Regions from separate parts of the Homo sapiens genome. Here regions 1, 2, 3 and 5 are each linked to region 4. Evidence: promoter capture Hi-C in 16 types of primary human blood cells and fetal thymus (Javierre and others, 2016). All regions are on one chromosome and are shown on one strand. The core of a region is centred on a gene start or on the middle of the fragment in contact, and the rest is flanking DNA. Distances in the headings are between cores, read along the strand shown.

Region 1 (3,033 bases), core at 28-2,527, 2.3 Mb before region 4:
TGGGGGTCTCACTATATTGCCCAGGCTGGCCTTGAACTCCTGGCTTCAAGTTATCCTCCCACCTTGGCCTCCAAAGTGCTGGGATTACAGGTGTGAGCCACCATGCCCAGCCTGTTGTCTCTGAACTCTAGGATCTAACTCTGACTCAACACTCTCATTATTTGTTAAATTTGAAAGTGGAAATAAATTATATGTAAGAGTCAGTAGATCTACCTCTGAGGTTTGTCAAATATTGCAGCTGCTGCTATTTTACCTCAGATAGAGCTTGTTTCTGTTGTTGCTTTTTAACTTCTGAGCCCCTCACATTTTCTTAATCCATAAAATTATTTCTGGCCCTTCCCACTGATACTGTATTAGTGATATACCTTATGGTCAAAAGGATTGAAAGTTTTCCACTCTTCCGAGTGACTACTGCCTAATTTGTTTCAGGGTCCATTTCATTCCTTTTAGCTCTTGGCATTGTAATTTGCCTTTCTAGGTGTTGTATACACTTTCCACAATAGGAAAGGCTGCAGCACAGGTGAGAGGTCAGGTTTTCTCAAAAGCATGTTCAGAGCAGGATAGTGATGGAGGAGCCAGCATGTTCCTGGGTGTGCTGCGGTAGGCAGCCTAGGCAAACCTACCCCCAAAAGTCTGAGGAAGCTGAAAGGCTGAAAAAGAGGCTGATAAATCTGCCTAAGGGAAAGATTAATGGTCAAGGGTCTTTTGTCCTAAGGACAGGATTCACAGTTAACAAGGAACAGTGGTGAGCAGGTCTATGCAAACTTGCCCCCAAAGGCTGAAGAGAGAGACTGACAAATCCAGTTTCTCAGGAAGAAACATTTAAAAGGGACTTAGGAACAGAAACAATCTCTCTGTTGGCTGAGGGATGGTAGATCCCCGCATCTGTGCTCCAGAAAATATCCTCTATATAGCAAGCTTTTTTGGTAAAACATGCAGCTGGTCATGCCTCAGACTTTCTAGCAAAACTTGTGACCACTGGGGAGGTTAGATAAACATCTTTATGAGGGTTTATCCATGCCATGGAAACACCTTGGTATGCAGTAGTCAAACATCGGTCATCATGGCAGTTTTTCTTCAAGACGGCATCACTCTTGCCATGCAACCAGCTGTTTCCCTACCCTGGACCCCACTTCCCCCTAAGTTTGTATTTAAAAAGTGGCATCTTATCAACACATTTTAAGGTAACATGCTGACCTGGTGATTGTCAAGGCCAGAATGGAGAGATATAGTGGGAACAAGACTGTTGGTATGCCTCTTTACCAATTAAGGGATCCTTGTCTCCCCCAAGTGGATGTGTCTCTGGTTGAGGATGACCTTGAAAGGGACTGATTTCTAGCCATGGGGAATACTTAACTGACATCTAACTCCCAGTATCTTCCACCCATCCATCCTACTTTATTCCTTAGGGCTATGCAGAACAAGCCTAGTCTTTCCACTGAGGCATCTTTTAGTTTAGTGAAGACCATGGGCTTGTTTCATGGGTTGTTTCATCAACCTTTCAATATAAAAAGATACCTCTTCACACAGACTTTCTTTACCCCTACTCTGTTGTTTCCATTCCACTTACCTCCTTCAGATATATTTTTTATTTTTGTTGGTTTTTTCCTCGAAGCCCACTAGAATGAAAGCTTCATGAGGCTTTTCATGCCATTTTGTCATGTGCTGTGCTTGGCACATTATAGGCACACAGTACCCTCTGGCTTTATACTCTCACAGATCTGCAAGACCCCTACTGCAACCCAATGCAAACTCCTCTCTCTATAAAAAGATATCTTTTCCCCCAGTAGTTTCAACAGAAGTCATAGAATTGAGTTTCACTGGCCTGGCCAGAATCCTGTGCCCATCCTCAACAAATTACTGTGGCCAAGGGGATGGGCTACATTGCTTGGCTACTCTTGGGTCATCTGCTCAACTGGAATAATGTTTTTTCTTTTTCTTTTTAAAGACAGGGTCTCACTCTGTCTGGCTGGAGTACAGTGGTGCAGTCATAGCTCACTACAGCCTGCAACTCTTGGGCTCAAGTGATCCTCCAGCCTCAGCCTCCTGAGTAGCTGGGACTATAGGCATAAATCACACTATGCCCGGCTAAGTTTTAAAGTTTTTTATGGAGATGGTGGTCTATGTTGCTCAGGTTGGTCTCCAACACCTGGGCTCAAGTAATCTGCCTTCCTTGGCCTCCCAAAGTGCTGGGATTACAGGTGTGAGCCACCACACCCAGTCTGGAATAAGATTTGACTGTTGTAGAATCACATGGCTAGAAGTGATGAAGGATTGATTAAGCACTGCTACTAAAAGAAAGATTGAAGGAATGCAGGACAGGCAAAAGAACACAGGGAGGAATGCATATTCAGAATGTCTGTTTGTCAAGCACTGTATAGGTTGAACACCCTTAATCTGAAAATCCAAAATCCAAAACGCTCCAAAATCCAAAACTTTTTGAGCACTGATGTGATGCTCAAGGAAATGCTCAGTGGAGCATTTTGGATTTCAGATTTTCAGATTGGGATGCTCAACTGGCATGTATTCTGCAAATACTCAAAAATCTGAAAAAATCCAAAATCTGAAACACTTCTGGTCTCAAATATTTCAGATAAGGGATACTCAAGCTGCATATACATTATCCCATTTAATTTACATCACAACCCAACAAAATGGGTACTATTTTTAGAGGAGAAAGCAGACTTAGAAAGATGAAGAAATTTGCCGCTACAAGTTGATGAGCTGGGACTCAAATCCAGGTCTGTTCGGCTCTAGAACAGAACCTATATGTAACATGTCTCTCTTCATCTATCGCTCAGGTTTTATTCACGTGTCACCCTCAGTCATTCACTATGGTTCACTGGATAGCTAGGGAAGCACAGAACAAACACTCAGTATTTCACTCAGGTCAGGCTCTGTGCCCTGAGTGTGCCTGTCTTTGCCATGTTCTCCCAGCCAATGTTTTCTCTCCAATTTCTCCAGTTTTCCAGGCTTTCCATTAGACTGAAACTCAGCTCTGCTTCCATCTCTTCCACGTATTGTCTGAAGCTT
Region 2 (3,273 bases), core at 1-2,500, 2.4 Mb after region 4:
GAGAGTTGTGATTAGTCTAAACTCTCCACAGCTGTGAGAGATGAATGTACAAATTCCAATAAAGATTCTGCATGTTCTGGGCTGAATTTACCTACATGACATCGAGGCCTAATTCAGGGACCACTTAAAAGAACTGGAGCTGCTTCGGTGCTACTCCATTCTTCCATGGCATCAGCTGCTAGGAGGCTTGCAACTGATCCAGGAGGATGCCTCCCCTCATGCCAATGTCACCGCCCACCAGTGGGTATTTGTTTAAAAGGCCTGCAGTATGCAGGGGAAAGATGCAGGGAAGGGAAAATTAAACCTAAGTACATGGGAATTCAAAGAAGCCTTGCAATTCATTATGTGAGCAGCCAGGGAGATTACAGAACACCTTGTAACTGAAGCAGTTGGCCTGAGGCGGCGTGGGACAGCAGAACCAGCTGCCTCACCACCTCTAACTCATTTATAATGGTGCTAGCAAGAAACCAGGCTCAGAGAGTTCTTCAGATTCTTGGGAAAGCCAACAGTGCTTTGGTTTCCTAATTTGGACACCTTTTACCTAAAATACTTCCTTGAATACTAAGTGAATGTAATAATACATGACATGCCCCTTTACCATGTTTTTTGTTTTGTTTTTAAGACAGTCTCATTCTCTTACCCAGGCTAAAGTTCAGTGGCACTATCTCGGCTCACTGCGGCCTCCACCTCCTGAGCTCAAGCCATCCTCCCACCTCAGTCTACCACATACCTGGGACCACAGGTGCAGCGCTGCCATGCCTGGCTAATTTTTGTAATTTTTTTGTTAGAGACAGCGTTTTGCCATGTCACCTGGGCTGTCTCAAACTCCTGGGCTCAAGTGATCCGCTCGCCTTGGCCTCCCAAAGTACTGGGATTACAGGCATGAGCCACGGCACCCGGTCTCCTTTACCATGTTAATAATTGTATCACCTGGAGGCACTTGCCTATTCTTTACGAAATACCTGACACTCAGCATGCTTTCCATGACTGGGAAAGACAGGGGACAAGGATTCACGACATTGTCTACACACGTTAACAATTATGGAGAAAGAAATAAGATTGTTAGTTAAACAGAAAGTTATACCAAAGGAATTTATAGCCCGGTTTAAAAAAAAATGATCTAATAGGATTTGCCTGAATGTAGAATCTTCTAAAGCCACACTACCTTCATCTTATACATCCACATCCATTGTTTAGAGCCCACTGAATTTTTAACTGTATAACTTTCTTTCTGACATCTGGAGATTTTAATAGTGCACTGTAATTTTACAGTTTATCACACAGCCATACACATATGTTACTCTTATGTGACATATGGCATTTCTCCTTGTAGACTCTGAACTCAACCTTTCACTCTCGGTGGCAAACCAGAAAGAGAACATGACTCAAGTCAGGAGACCCACCGGAGAGTTGAATGAGCCATAAATGAAATTCTCAAAATACCAAACTCTGGATGATCCATACATCCATTTTATTAAAATGGGAGTGGGCAGGAATGGAAAACCAAGTATCATATGTTCTCACTCGTAAGTAGGAGTTAATTTATGGGTACACAAAGGCATACAGAGTGGCATAATGGACACTGGAGACTCAGAAGAGAGGAGGACGGGTGAGGGGTAAAGGATAGTAACACTATCTATTGGAGGCTGGGTGTGATGGCTCACGCCTGTAATCCCAGCACTTTGGGAGGCTGAGGCGGGCGGATCACCTGAGGTCAGGAGTTCGAGACCAGCCTGAACAGCATGGAGAAACCCTGTCTCTACTAAAAATACAAAATTAGCCCGGCATGGTGGCACATGCCTGTAATCCCAGCTACTTGGGAGGCTGAGGCAGGAGAATCACTTGAACCCAGGAAGCAGAGGTTGTGGTGAGCAGAGATCAAACCATTGCACACTCCAGCCTGGGCAGCAAGAGCAAAACTCCGTCTGGGAAAAAAAAAAAAAAAAAAAGAACACTACCTTTTGGGTATAATGTACACTACTCGGGTGACAGGTGCACTAAAATTTCAGACTTCACCACTATACAATTCATCCATGTAACCAAAAACCGCTTGTACCCCAAAAGCTACTGAAAGTAAATAAAATCAATAAAATGAAATTTTAAAATGTAAACGGAATAAATTATCCAATCAAAAGACCAGAAAAATGGGAGTAGAAGTGAGGGAGCGAGGGAACACACTAATTTTTTTCTAATATACACAAAAAACAAAACACAGAAAACCAGAAACATTTTCTCTTTTATTTTTTCACCATCTCTCATTGCAAATCTTCTACACGCTAATAGATTCTTTTTTTTTTTTTTTTTTTTTTTTGAGACGGAGTCTCGCTCTGTGGCCCAAGCTGGAGTGCTGTGGCGCGATCTTGGCTCACTGCAAGCTCCGCCTCCCGGGTTCACGCCATTCTCCTGCCTCAACCTCCCGAGTAGCTGCCAGTACAGGCGCCCGCCACCACGCTCAGCTAATTTTTTGTATTTTTAGTAAAGACGGGGTTTCACCGTGTTAGCCAGGATGGTCTCCATCTCCTGACCTCGTGATCCGCCCGCCTCGGCCTCCCAAAGTGCTGGGATTACAGGCGTGAGCCACCGCGCCCGGCCGCTAACAGATACTTTCAACATTGGTACAGATCCCCTCAGATTTCATCTTCTCAAGAGCAAAATCAAATCATTAATGTAAGCCTGTTAAACTGGATGGCCACTAACTATGACTTCCCCTGGAACCATGTTGCAAGGACCGCTTTTTCAAGCAGCTTTTCCTTGCCTTTCTGCTAGAGACCGGTTCTAGGTAAAATCGCCCAGCAAGGCAACTTGGAAAAAAACTTTAAAAAATTAATTAGTTGGAAATCATAGAATATGCCAGGATTCTAGACAAATAACTAGTGTCCGAGTCCCCTCCTTGCCCCAACATTGTCTCCCCACCCTCTAGAGTTCTCTACTCTGACTACAAGGGTAATACATGTCAGGGTGCCTCTAGGATACTACTTAAGCATCCTGACAGTGTCTGATCTGAGTGGTCAGTGCTCAATGTTAAGTATTTTGCATAAAAATGCTAGTTTCCCCTGTGTGTGTAAATATACATATATGTTTATATGCATATTTGTGTGTGTGTGTGTGTGTGTGTGTGTGTGTGTGTTTAGGCCAGGATTCTAATAGCTAAAACAAAGATTCAGAGACAATAAATAGAGCAGCCCTGCAGAAAAGGGGAGTGTTGCCTTGCTGAGAATATTCACAGTTGGTCTGATGGTAACATGGGGTGTTCTACTAAATGACAGTTTGATC
Region 3 (3,007 bases), core at 310-2,809, 2.4 Mb after region 4:
CTTGTTCAGAATTAAAGCATAGCTCAGAGTATACCGTCCTCCTGCTCAACACCCTTCCACTTACAGAATAATGTCCAAATTCCTTAGCATGGCATTCATGACCCTCCATAATCCAGCTCCCATCCATCCATCATCCAGCTTTGTCTTCCCACAATGTATATTTCACCTTTGCAAGATTTTAGCTACATCAGAGTACTCAAGGCTCCCATTCCCTCTGACTTTGTACAACCTCTTTACCTCTTGGGATGCCTTCCCACCATTTTATCTACCTAAACCCTACCTGTCCTTCAGAGTATAATTCATCACATGTCTTCCATGATTCTTTCACCACTCTCTCAACTGGAAGAAAACTCTTCCCTTCCTGTGTATTCACGGTGCTTTGGACCTATTATATACTGTAATATAAAACTGAAGCTCTTAGGTTGGTGTATGACTACCTCCCTCCTTGTGGCTGAGATAATGTCTTGCTCATATTTATATAATTTGTACATTCTTATACACTTACAGAATACCTACTATCTTTAAGGTGTTACAAGTTATAAAAATATATTTGAACTTTACATTGACATTTTCAAATAAAAATTTAAAGCTAAAAATTAATACAGTGTAATATTGCAGCACTTTTCAATAGCATAAAGAAAAGGGTAAGAGACTTTCCCCTACGCCTTTTTTGGCAGCCATTCTTGGGTAAATCTATGAGTATACCCTAATTTAATAGTTTTTAAACTTTTTCACATCAAGAACCACTTTGCAAATCTTATGAAAGCTTTGAATGCCCCTCATACACATACAATTCAAATATAAAAATACATGGAAAAATTATAACTTGAAAAATTTTACAGTTTCCAACCCAAATAAAGCCTAATGTACTCCCAAAATCTGAGGTTAGGAACCCATACTTTTAGGCTTAGCCCACTTTTTACCCCATAAGTGGAAAAGTTGGCTTTTAATTACAGGTTGACTTTCCCTTTTCTGACTTTTCTAAACCCTCTGCTATTTACTGTCTACTAGTTAATCTAATAAGTGGTTAATAATCCCCATATGTCACCAAGATGAAGCATGAATTTTTATAAAACTATCATAGGATAATAAAATGCATGTAACATCAAGGCAGTGGTGAACACAGGCATAAAGTAAACTATGGATAACCTAGTCGGTACTTGAGGAACTTGCAGCATCTCAGAGTTATCAAGAACACCAGTTGGTTTACCCTAGATCTGTGGCAGCCTGGTTTAAAAAATATATGTACTTTTAGATAAAACAGTGACAACTAGAGGATTTATTATACTATTAAAAATAAACAAGTAGTCATTATTTAAATCAGTAGAAAATACTGTCTCAGTTCTCAAGACACTTAGGAATATGTTTGGGAGATAAGAGAATGGAACAGCTAAAGAATAAGGCGGTCTCCACCATTAGGATATAAATCACTGATAGATTTATTTTGTACAATATATTGGTGTTTACCAGTAGACATTATTCAGCACCTAGTCTATGACACTCTTAGATACTGGGCTCATAAGATGAGAGGAACCCAGGGGAAGGGAGACATGGGTGGGGACAAGCATGTGAGCAGCAAGGTCATAGAGACAATAGGGTCAAGAGCACTGATGGGAGGTGAGCCTTGGATAGGAAAAGGAAGACCTCTGTGACTGAGAGGAAGCCAGCAAGGTACTGATGTGTTCAGGGTGAGCTTGCCAGGAAATTGAAGGCTTTCATACCTGGCGACCTGGTTTTGAGAATGAAGATGTGATCTGCTGAAAATAAGGGAGTGGAGGAGGATGTGGAATAATCACTGAGGAAACCAGAAGTGGACAGTGACCAAAGACAAGTTAAATGTTACACAGTGGAATGCTGTGCAGTTGTTTTATTGTCCTATTTTACAGATGAGAGAAATAAATGTATCCTATCTTTGAGAAGTTTTAGAACTTTTTTTTTTTTTCTGAGCCAATCTTGCAAACCCTGTTACCCAGGCTAGAGTGCAGGACTGCAGTTTCAGCTCACTGCAACCTCCACTTCCCAGATTGAAAGGATCCTTCGGCCTCAGCCTCTCGAGCAGCTAGGAATACAGGTGCGCACTACCACATCCAGCTAATTTTGTAGAGATGGGGTCTCACCATGTTGCCCATGCTGGTCTCGAACTCCTGAGCTCAAGTGGTCCACCCACCTTGGCTCCCCAAAGTGCAGGGATTACAGGCATGACCCACCACACCCAGACAAGTTTTAGAACATTGTAAAAGAAGTGTCAGCTATACTTACTGACCACCTTGCCACAACAGCTGAAGAAAATGCTTTTATTTTTCTATTAAATCGTGTTTTCTTTAAGAATGGAATGATTTTTCCCTAAGCTTTTAAGATACGTGCATTTTAAAAACCATTTCAAATGTCATAATTAGATCCCTGCCTATTCATGATTCCTAATCCTAAAATCGCTAAGGATTCAGTCAAGTATCAAATGTTAAGTTTTCAAAATATTTTGCAGATCAAATAAAGGACATTTTTCCTCAACAACTTAGTTTTGGCGGGGTTTTTTTCTTTCTGTTAAAATTTAGATTATTCATTTCTTCCCTTAGCTAAGTCGTTTAGCTAGTCAGTCTGTTTCCTGAAGTCAGACAGTTGGCTTGGAAAATCTGTCAGGTTTTGTGAGGTTCTAACCTTCTAAATTGTGCCTGAATTTCGTACAGTTTAATACTGAATATGGTGCCCATTGACCACCAGAGGGCACTTTGTAGCCTGCCTTCTGTTGCAGTGATATCCACAAGCAATGGTTAGGTACCGTATCTCTTTTTCTGGTATTCATACTGTATTTCGTCCTTTCACTTTGTATTTTTTCATCTTTTTTAAAAATTTTTTCTACTTTTCTTTGCCATGGAATGTTTATATGAACTCATTACATGGATTATCATGAAATCATAATTGATGTTTTTATTAATTAAACTTCTGTAGTCTTTTTTATAATAGTATGAAATCCAGTGTTTATCATTTTTACGATGGCCCTACTTGTTGA
Region 4 (3,383 bases), core at 540-3,039:
TGCCCTCCAAACACCAGAGTGCAAATTTCACATGGTAGGGCCTTCGTACTGGCTTACTGAATTGTACTGAAAAGGTGAAGATCTTAATTCGCTGGATATAAAAATAGGTTAGGTGCTGTTTCTAACTCTGCATACCCTCCATAGTCTCAATTTGCTCAAATGTAAAATATTTTTAAAAATACATAAAACTATGAAAGATATAATGGGAGAACCATGGGAATGGCAATAAAGAATGTAAACGTAAAACATGAAGGCCTAAGACAGACGTGATGCCCTCTGCAACTTCCACACGTGGCCCAGTAAATCGGTGCCTGAATTCCTCTCTCGGCTTTCACCATTCTGCCCTGTCATCTCCCTTTACTCTATTTCACAAATCTACCACGCCACAGAGTGTGCAACAGACTCGTTCGTTGAACTCGCCTTAGCTCTTTCTCACAGGACCATACACCTCAAAGCGTATTAGGTAACCGACCCCCTCTTGCCTTGCTCCCGTTCCGGCCTCTGTTGGCCACATTTGCCAGAACAAGAATGGGCAACCATTTCCCTTTAACAGTCCCAACTAAAATGGAAGCGCGTCTAGACCTGGACACCTTTAATCCTGTGTAAGCCCCAGAATTTCTAGGTCACCGCACTTCTTCCACTGCCTACTGTCTCAATGTGACTTGAGATAGACATCTGTCTTCCGAGCGCAGTCTTTATACAACTTCCTAACACCACCTTAAGGTCCCATTACGCTCCACATGCAGCCTACTCTGCAGGCCTCAAGGAAGGATGCTGTGCTTATTCTAGCGGTGACGGTTCCCAAAGATGGCTTGACCTCTGGGCGCCTATCTGAACGGACCCCCAGACCTCCTAACTTCCTTCCTCGAAACTGGGCTTCCCCACTCGTCCTATACTTCCTGAGTTCCCCCCATTCCCCAAATAACATGACCACCTATCACCTCCTCCTCCACTTGGGAGTGCTGCCTCTCGGCTTTCGACTAAGCACTCTTTTCCTTCCCGGCTGGGGCGCGGCCTCCCCCAAGCTCGAGGGTCTCCACGCCCGCCCTTCGCCCGTTCTCTACTGCCGCTCATCCCATACTCACTTTGGGCTTCTCGGACAGTTTCTTCCGGTTCTTCTTCTTCTGTTCCTCGCTCCGGAGATTCTTCAGCAAGGCCAGGTCGTCGGGGGCCGCGGCCGGCACGGCCGCCGCCTCCTCCCGCTTGCGGGGCGGGCTCCTCCGCTTTTTGCGGGCGCCGGCGCAAGCCGCGGCCCAGCCGTAGCCCAGCAGAAACAGCAGCAGCAGCCCGAGCGCGCCAGTGCCCACCAGGATCACCCAGCCGGGGTACCGTTTCGGCTCCAGCCCCAGGTCGAGGCCCAGCTCGGTGCGCAGAAAGCCTAGGCCGACCGAGAGCATTTCCCGCAGCCGGGCCGAGCCCTCCTCGGCCTGCTGGGCCAGCTCGTCCTGCCAGCTCCGTGCAGCCATCTTCCCTCCCGTCAGAGGGACTCGCAGGATGACGCCGGGGCGCGGAGACGCAGTGGAATAGTCGAGGGAAGCGAGGAAGGGCCGGGCCGGGTAACCTCAGGCCGAGCGCATCGCGGCCGTCCCTCGCGCCGGAGCCGGGGATCGGCCGCTGCCACCGCGGGGAGGGCGGAGGGGTCTCCCAGGTTCCCCGCTGTCAGCCTCACTCCGCCGCCGCCAGGAGACCCGGGAGGCGGGAGGGAGTGTCTCCAGTGGCGGCCGCTAAGCGGCGTCTCGGCGCCAGCGCCAGGCCCCGCTGTCCTCCCTCGGCGGAACAATGGCGGCTTGGGCCGCGATCCACGCCGCGCGCGGGGACGACCGTGGGTCACGTGGGCGCCAGTGGGCGGGGCGTGGGCGTCACGTGGGGGCGGGCGGGGTCGGGTGGGGCAAAGGCGTGTCAGGGAAGGTTGGCGGTGGTCGGTTCGGGCCTGGTTAAGACGCGGCGTTGGGGACCCGTTACTGTAGACCAGAAGCTGGGAGGGGTTAATTGGTGGACGCCTTCGCGGGGTGGCTGGTGGCGCAGAGTTAGGAGACGTGGCGCAACGAATGAGTACAGAGGAGGGGCTCCGTGCAAGGCGGGGGCGGGCGGGGGGCGGGTAGGGCTGCAGCGCTAGGAACCGGGTCACCGGGTCTAGGTCAAAGTCGCCCTGGCAGGTATAGGGCTCTTCATGCCTTTTTCTGGAGTGTTATTGAGGTGGAATCGCTTTTTCTCCCTGGTGGCGCCAGTTGGATCCTTCCAGAATGAGCTCAACGGAGTCTGACGCCGAACACTGTTCTTCCGGGACCTAGGTTTAGTTCACAAATTGGGTATTTCTCTCCAGGGTGTTTCTCTCCAGGGCAACTAATACACTGCGTGCCTACCAGTTGCCAGCCTGGCGAGGGCACGTTTGCGTCGTTTGGCTCATTCACTCTTGCTCTCTGTTGTTAGTCCCCAGAATTCAAAAGTTGGAAAGCCCGTGGGCGGCACTATTCTTTTCCTACTAATTTGTAGCTTTAATAACACATAAGGGGAAGCACATTAGATTGTATTTACTTATGGAGGGAGCTTTCTCGTTACGTTTTATTTTAAGCTTTTCTACAACACTGCAAAAGGGGTTTGCAAAAATTCCATTTTTATATGCTATGTTGACCATCTCTGGGATGCAGCTATAGAAGGAAACGAACTGCCTTTTCAAATTTTTTTTTTTTGAGACAAGAGTCTCGCTCTGTCGCCCGGGCTGGAGTGCAGTGGCACTATCTCCGCTCACTGCAAGGTCCGCCTCCTGGGTTCAAGCCATTCTCCTGCCTCAGCCTCCCGAGCAGCTGGGACTATAGGCACCCACCACCACGCCCGGCTAATTTTTTGTATTTTTAGTAGAGACGGGGTTTCACCGTGTTAGCCAGGATGGTCTTGATCTCCTGACCTCGTGATCCGCCCACCTCAGCCTCCCAAAGTGCTGGGATTACAGGCGTGAGCCACCACGCCAGGCCTTCAGGTTTTAATTATAAGGGAAATGCTTGAAGGCTGCCTTAGGGTTTTAAGATTATATTTTGCTATAAGGAAACTCTGTATTTTATCGGTAAATGATCATTAGCGTGTAAGCAACTGTCTTAAGTGAACTAAATACAGGCTTTCTCAAGGAATACAGCAGGGGTAATATTAATAACCACCAAATACCAAAAATGTATTTTGACCTATTTTGCAACAGTGTCGTAATGCATATTGTGATTCATGTGTGGAAGGGAGTTTTGTAAATAATAAATAATAAAAGCATACTACACTTGCCAAGACTTATGATTAAAGACTAAATTAAATTAGGAGGCCAAAAACTTAGCAAATGTTATTGGGATCTGCTTTAACTCAAAGTTTCCAAATTCCATTTATATTTGTGAAATAAGATT
Region 5 (3,401 bases), core at 8-2,507, 2.5 Mb before region 4:
AAGAAGGAATATACTAAAATTATAAAATTATGAAAGCTCAATTTCATTGCCAGCCTGGGCAATGTAGTGAGACTTCATCTCTACTAAAAATCAAAATAATCAGCCAGCATGGTGGTGTGTGCTTGCAGTCCCAGCTATTCAGGAAGCTGAGGTGAGAAGATTGTGTAAGCCTGGGAGATGGAGGCTGTAGTGAGCTATGATCATGCCACTGCACTCCAGTCTGGACAACAGAGGGAGACCCGGTCTTAAAAAAACAAAACAAAACAAAAATCTGAGCATGGAAGTATTTCATATAGCATGTAATAAATTTATAGAATTTAATATATGAAGATGGTGGTAAAAATGCAGGGTTTTTTTTAACAAAGTATTATGGACAATATTTTGAATGTCAAAGACAGACATAACTATTAATAAAGTTGGAATACATCTAATCTTTAAAATGCACATCAGGCTGGCCAACATGACATTCCACAACCATGGAATCCTTGAACAGAATAGCGTATAAGTGTGACCATTAATTCTACATCCCAAAGATCAAGGCTGAAGACTTAAACATTTATCCAATAATTCAGTGTAAACCAACGCTCCCCTCCCCAGCCCTTGACTCAGGGTGTTGCACTGTCCATCAGGCTGGAGTGCAGCAGCATGATTATGGCTCACTGCAGCCTCAAACTCTTGGGTTCAAGTGATCCTCCCATCTCAGCCTCCCGAGTCACTGCCTGTTCTTTTTATATCCTAAAAGCAGAACTGTTGACCTTAATGAGTGATTACACCTTGGAAACTGCACTTGGCTTAACAGCCTGCTTCATTCACTTTGCTTGGGGTTGATTTTGCCTTACAGAAAACAATTAAAGTTTCCCTTCATTATTCTGAGATTTAAAAGAGAACCAAGCATTATATGAAAATACAGAAAGGCCTATACCTAGTAATAAATGAAAAACTGAACTCAAGATGACATATGCATACTGACACCAAGCACAATGGTATACTTCATATCAAATGACACAGTGACACAGGACAGTGGTTTGCAATAAATTTATTTAATCAGAACTTCAGAGGGTTCTAGAAACCTGCATTTTTAACAAGGACTGCAGATGATTCTAGGTTTTGATTAAAAGTGTGGTTTGGGGAAGCAACTTTACCCTTTATTGTGTGTTAAATTACATATACAATAAAACAAAAAGTCACGTAATGGAACAAAAAATTGCTTTATACAAAATATTAGTAGATACCCAAATATAATATGGTCTTAAAAATAAAATCATATGTATATAGTTGTATTCCTAAGTACAGTAGTGCCCCCCTCATCCAAAGTTTCCCTTTCTGTGGTTTTGGTTACCTGTAGTCAACCACATTCTAAAATAGGTGAGTACTGTACAAGAAGATATTTTGAAAGCAAGAGAGACCAACCACATTCACATAACTTTTATTATAGTATGTTATCATTGTTCTATTACATTATTATTAATCTCTTGCTATGCTTAATTTATACATTATACTTTATCATAGGTATATATATATGGAAAAAACAGTGTATAAAGGTTTGGTACTGTTTGAGGTTTCAGGAGTTCACTGGGGGCCTTGGAATGTATCTCCCGAAGATAAGGGGGAACTACTGTAAGCAAAATCGAAAGCTATACAACAATCAGAAATGGGAAGAGAGCAAATCCAAGTATAAGTGAAGACATTCCTCTGAATTCCCAGCATTCATCGAGCATCAAAAACGACCACTGTATTAATTTGAGTTAAGGACAAAAACGGTACTTAAACATTATTAAGACTGAAGGTTTCAAAGTCACTTTCTCTTTGCAATAAGCTGGTTTGTTATTTAACTTAAAATGCAAAAAAGAATGGAATTCACTATTTACTATGACAACTGGTTTTTAAATAAACTAAAAACACTTTCAATTTTTATTACCACCTTTTCCATAAAATGTATCAAAAAACACTAAAGCAGGCCAGGCGCAGTGGCTCACGCCTGTAATCCCAGTACTTTGGGAGGCTGAGGTGGGCGGATCACGAGGTCAGGAGATCGAGACCATCCTGGCTAACATGGTGAAACCCCATCTTTACTAAAAAATAAAAAAAATTAGCCGGGCATGGTGGCGGGTGCCTGTAGTCCCAGCTACTCAGGAGGCTGAGGCAGGAGAATGCCATGAACCCGGAAGGCAGAGCTTGCAATGTGAGCCGAGATTGCGTCACTGCACACCAGCCTGGGTGACAGAGCGAGACTCCGTCTCAAAAAAAAACAAAAAACAAACAAAAAAAAACACTAAAGTAATGTTAAAGCGGATAATCCGTCGATTTACAATGTGTGTTAGTTGTATCATAACAATTTACTCTGTATTTTATTTTTCCACATGGGGGTCACACTATGTTGCCCAGGCTGGTCTTGAACTCCTGCAGCCTCCCAAAGTGCTGGGATTATAGGTGTGAGCAACCATGCTGGGCCTACTCTCAGTATTTGAACAATTTGTATGCCCAACTTTTTCCATTAGGTAGTATACACAATATTTGTATTTCTCCTCGTGAACTTTAGCTTGTCCATAAACTGAAGCTCAAGAATGAATACTTATATAAATGTAGTCATGCACCCATAATGACGTTTTGGTCAAAGATGGAGCACATATAAACAGTGGTCGCATAAGATTATACTCTATTTTTGCTGTACCTTTTCTATGTTCAGATATACAAAAACATTGTGTTACAATTGTCTATTCAGTACAATAGCATGCTGTACAGGTGTGTAGCCTAGCAGCAATAAGCTATACCATATAGCCTAGATGTGTATGTATAGTAGGATATACGGTCTAGGTTTCTGTAGGAATGATGAAATTGCTTAAGGACACAATTCTCAGAATGTATCCCTATCCTCAAGCTTGACTGCACAGAATCCCTAAAAAATAAATTTATGAGAACCAAAATCAACTAGCATTATTTAGATTATTTAGAGCCTATGCATTGGTCCATGAAAATGCTAATCATGTTTGTTTTTTAAGTACTGTAATCCAGAAAGTTATCATTTTAACCAGAAATTAATCTTTATCAACCCCAGCATTATTCATTTCCTCCTAACTCATATTTAGAAAGCATCGTTAAAAGGATACATCTTTTAGTCCTTTTCTTGTACATTATTCTGTATCCACATTCTCTGCATCTGATTGGATCCCTAGATTTTATTTCATTTTCTGTGTGACACTCTAGAATTAAAAAAAAAAATTTACTCAATGCCTAAGAGGAAAATATTACAGACAAATTATCTTAAATGTATTATTTACCTAAGGCAATCCAAAACACTAAAATATACTCAATCTCAAGGGTCTGCTGCTTTTATTAAATATATTAAATAGGAAAGAAAAAGGTTGTAGGCCATGCATATTTCCAGGAGAGAGAATGAAATC

What was found. Contacts are between HindIII fragments. The CHiCAGO score rates a contact against its expected background, and 5 or more counts as called.
Region 1: a fragment that was not itself captured here is called in contact with the fragment with the promoter of MTDH in region 4 in 2 of 17 cell types (non-activated CD4 T cells and fetal thymus); the score reaches 7.7 in non-activated CD4 T cells.
Region 2: a fragment that was not itself captured here is called in contact with the fragment with the promoter of MTDH in region 4 in 4 of 17 cell types (naive CD8 T cells, fetal thymus, total CD4 T cells and 1 more); the score reaches 11.6 in naive CD8 T cells.
Region 3: a fragment that was not itself captured here is called in contact with the fragment with the promoter of MTDH in region 4 in 1 of 17 cell types (naive CD8 T cells); the score reaches 8.6 in naive CD8 T cells.
Region 5: a fragment that was not itself captured here is called in contact with the fragment with the promoter of MTDH in region 4 in 2 of 17 cell types (fetal thymus and non-activated CD4 T cells); the score reaches 11.3 in fetal thymus.

What each region holds. Positions count from the first base shown.
Region 1 is chr8:99,894,705-99,897,737 of GRCh38, reverse strand. No RefSeq gene overlaps it. Among named protein-coding and RNA genes, the nearest start is that of COX6C, 2.5 kb to the right of the region's middle. The HindIII fragment of the contact is 713 bases long and covers 921-1,633 here.
Region 2 is chr8:95,270,834-95,274,106 of GRCh38, reverse strand. The region is part of intron 1 of CFAP418-AS1 (CFAP418 antisense RNA 1); the gene reads right to left. Among named protein-coding and RNA genes, the nearest start is that of TRS-AGA2-5, 2.7 kb to the right of the region's middle. The HindIII fragment of the contact is 4,275 bases long and covers 1-3,273 here.
Region 3 is chr8:95,248,592-95,251,598 of GRCh38, reverse strand. All of the region lies in intron 5 of CFAP418 (cilia and flagella associated protein 418), which reads left to right. Among named protein-coding and RNA genes, the nearest start is that of CFAP418-AS1, 19 kb to the left of the region's middle. The HindIII fragment of the contact is 1,582 bases long and covers 769-2,350 here.
Region 4 is chr8:97,642,590-97,645,972 of GRCh38, reverse strand. It overlaps MTDH (metadherin), which reads right to left and starts at 1,789. Exons shown (of 12, transcript NM_178812.4): 1 at 1,086-1,789. The coding sequence starts at 1,466. RefSeq lists silencers at 660-828, 1,112-1,181, 1,452-1,911, 2,092-2,201 and enhancers at 1-958, 959-1,939. The HindIII fragment of the contact is 3,502 bases long and covers 1-2,574 here.
Region 5 is chr8:100,151,623-100,155,023 of GRCh38, reverse strand. POLR2K (RNA polymerase II, I and III subunit K) reads right to left here. Exons shown (of 4, transcript NM_005034.4): 3 at 3,108-3,200; 4 at 1,021-1,730. The coding sequence ends at 1,708. Among named protein-coding and RNA genes, the nearest start is that of POLR2K, 2.7 kb to the right of the region's middle. The HindIII fragment of the contact is 3,247 bases long and covers 1-2,880 here.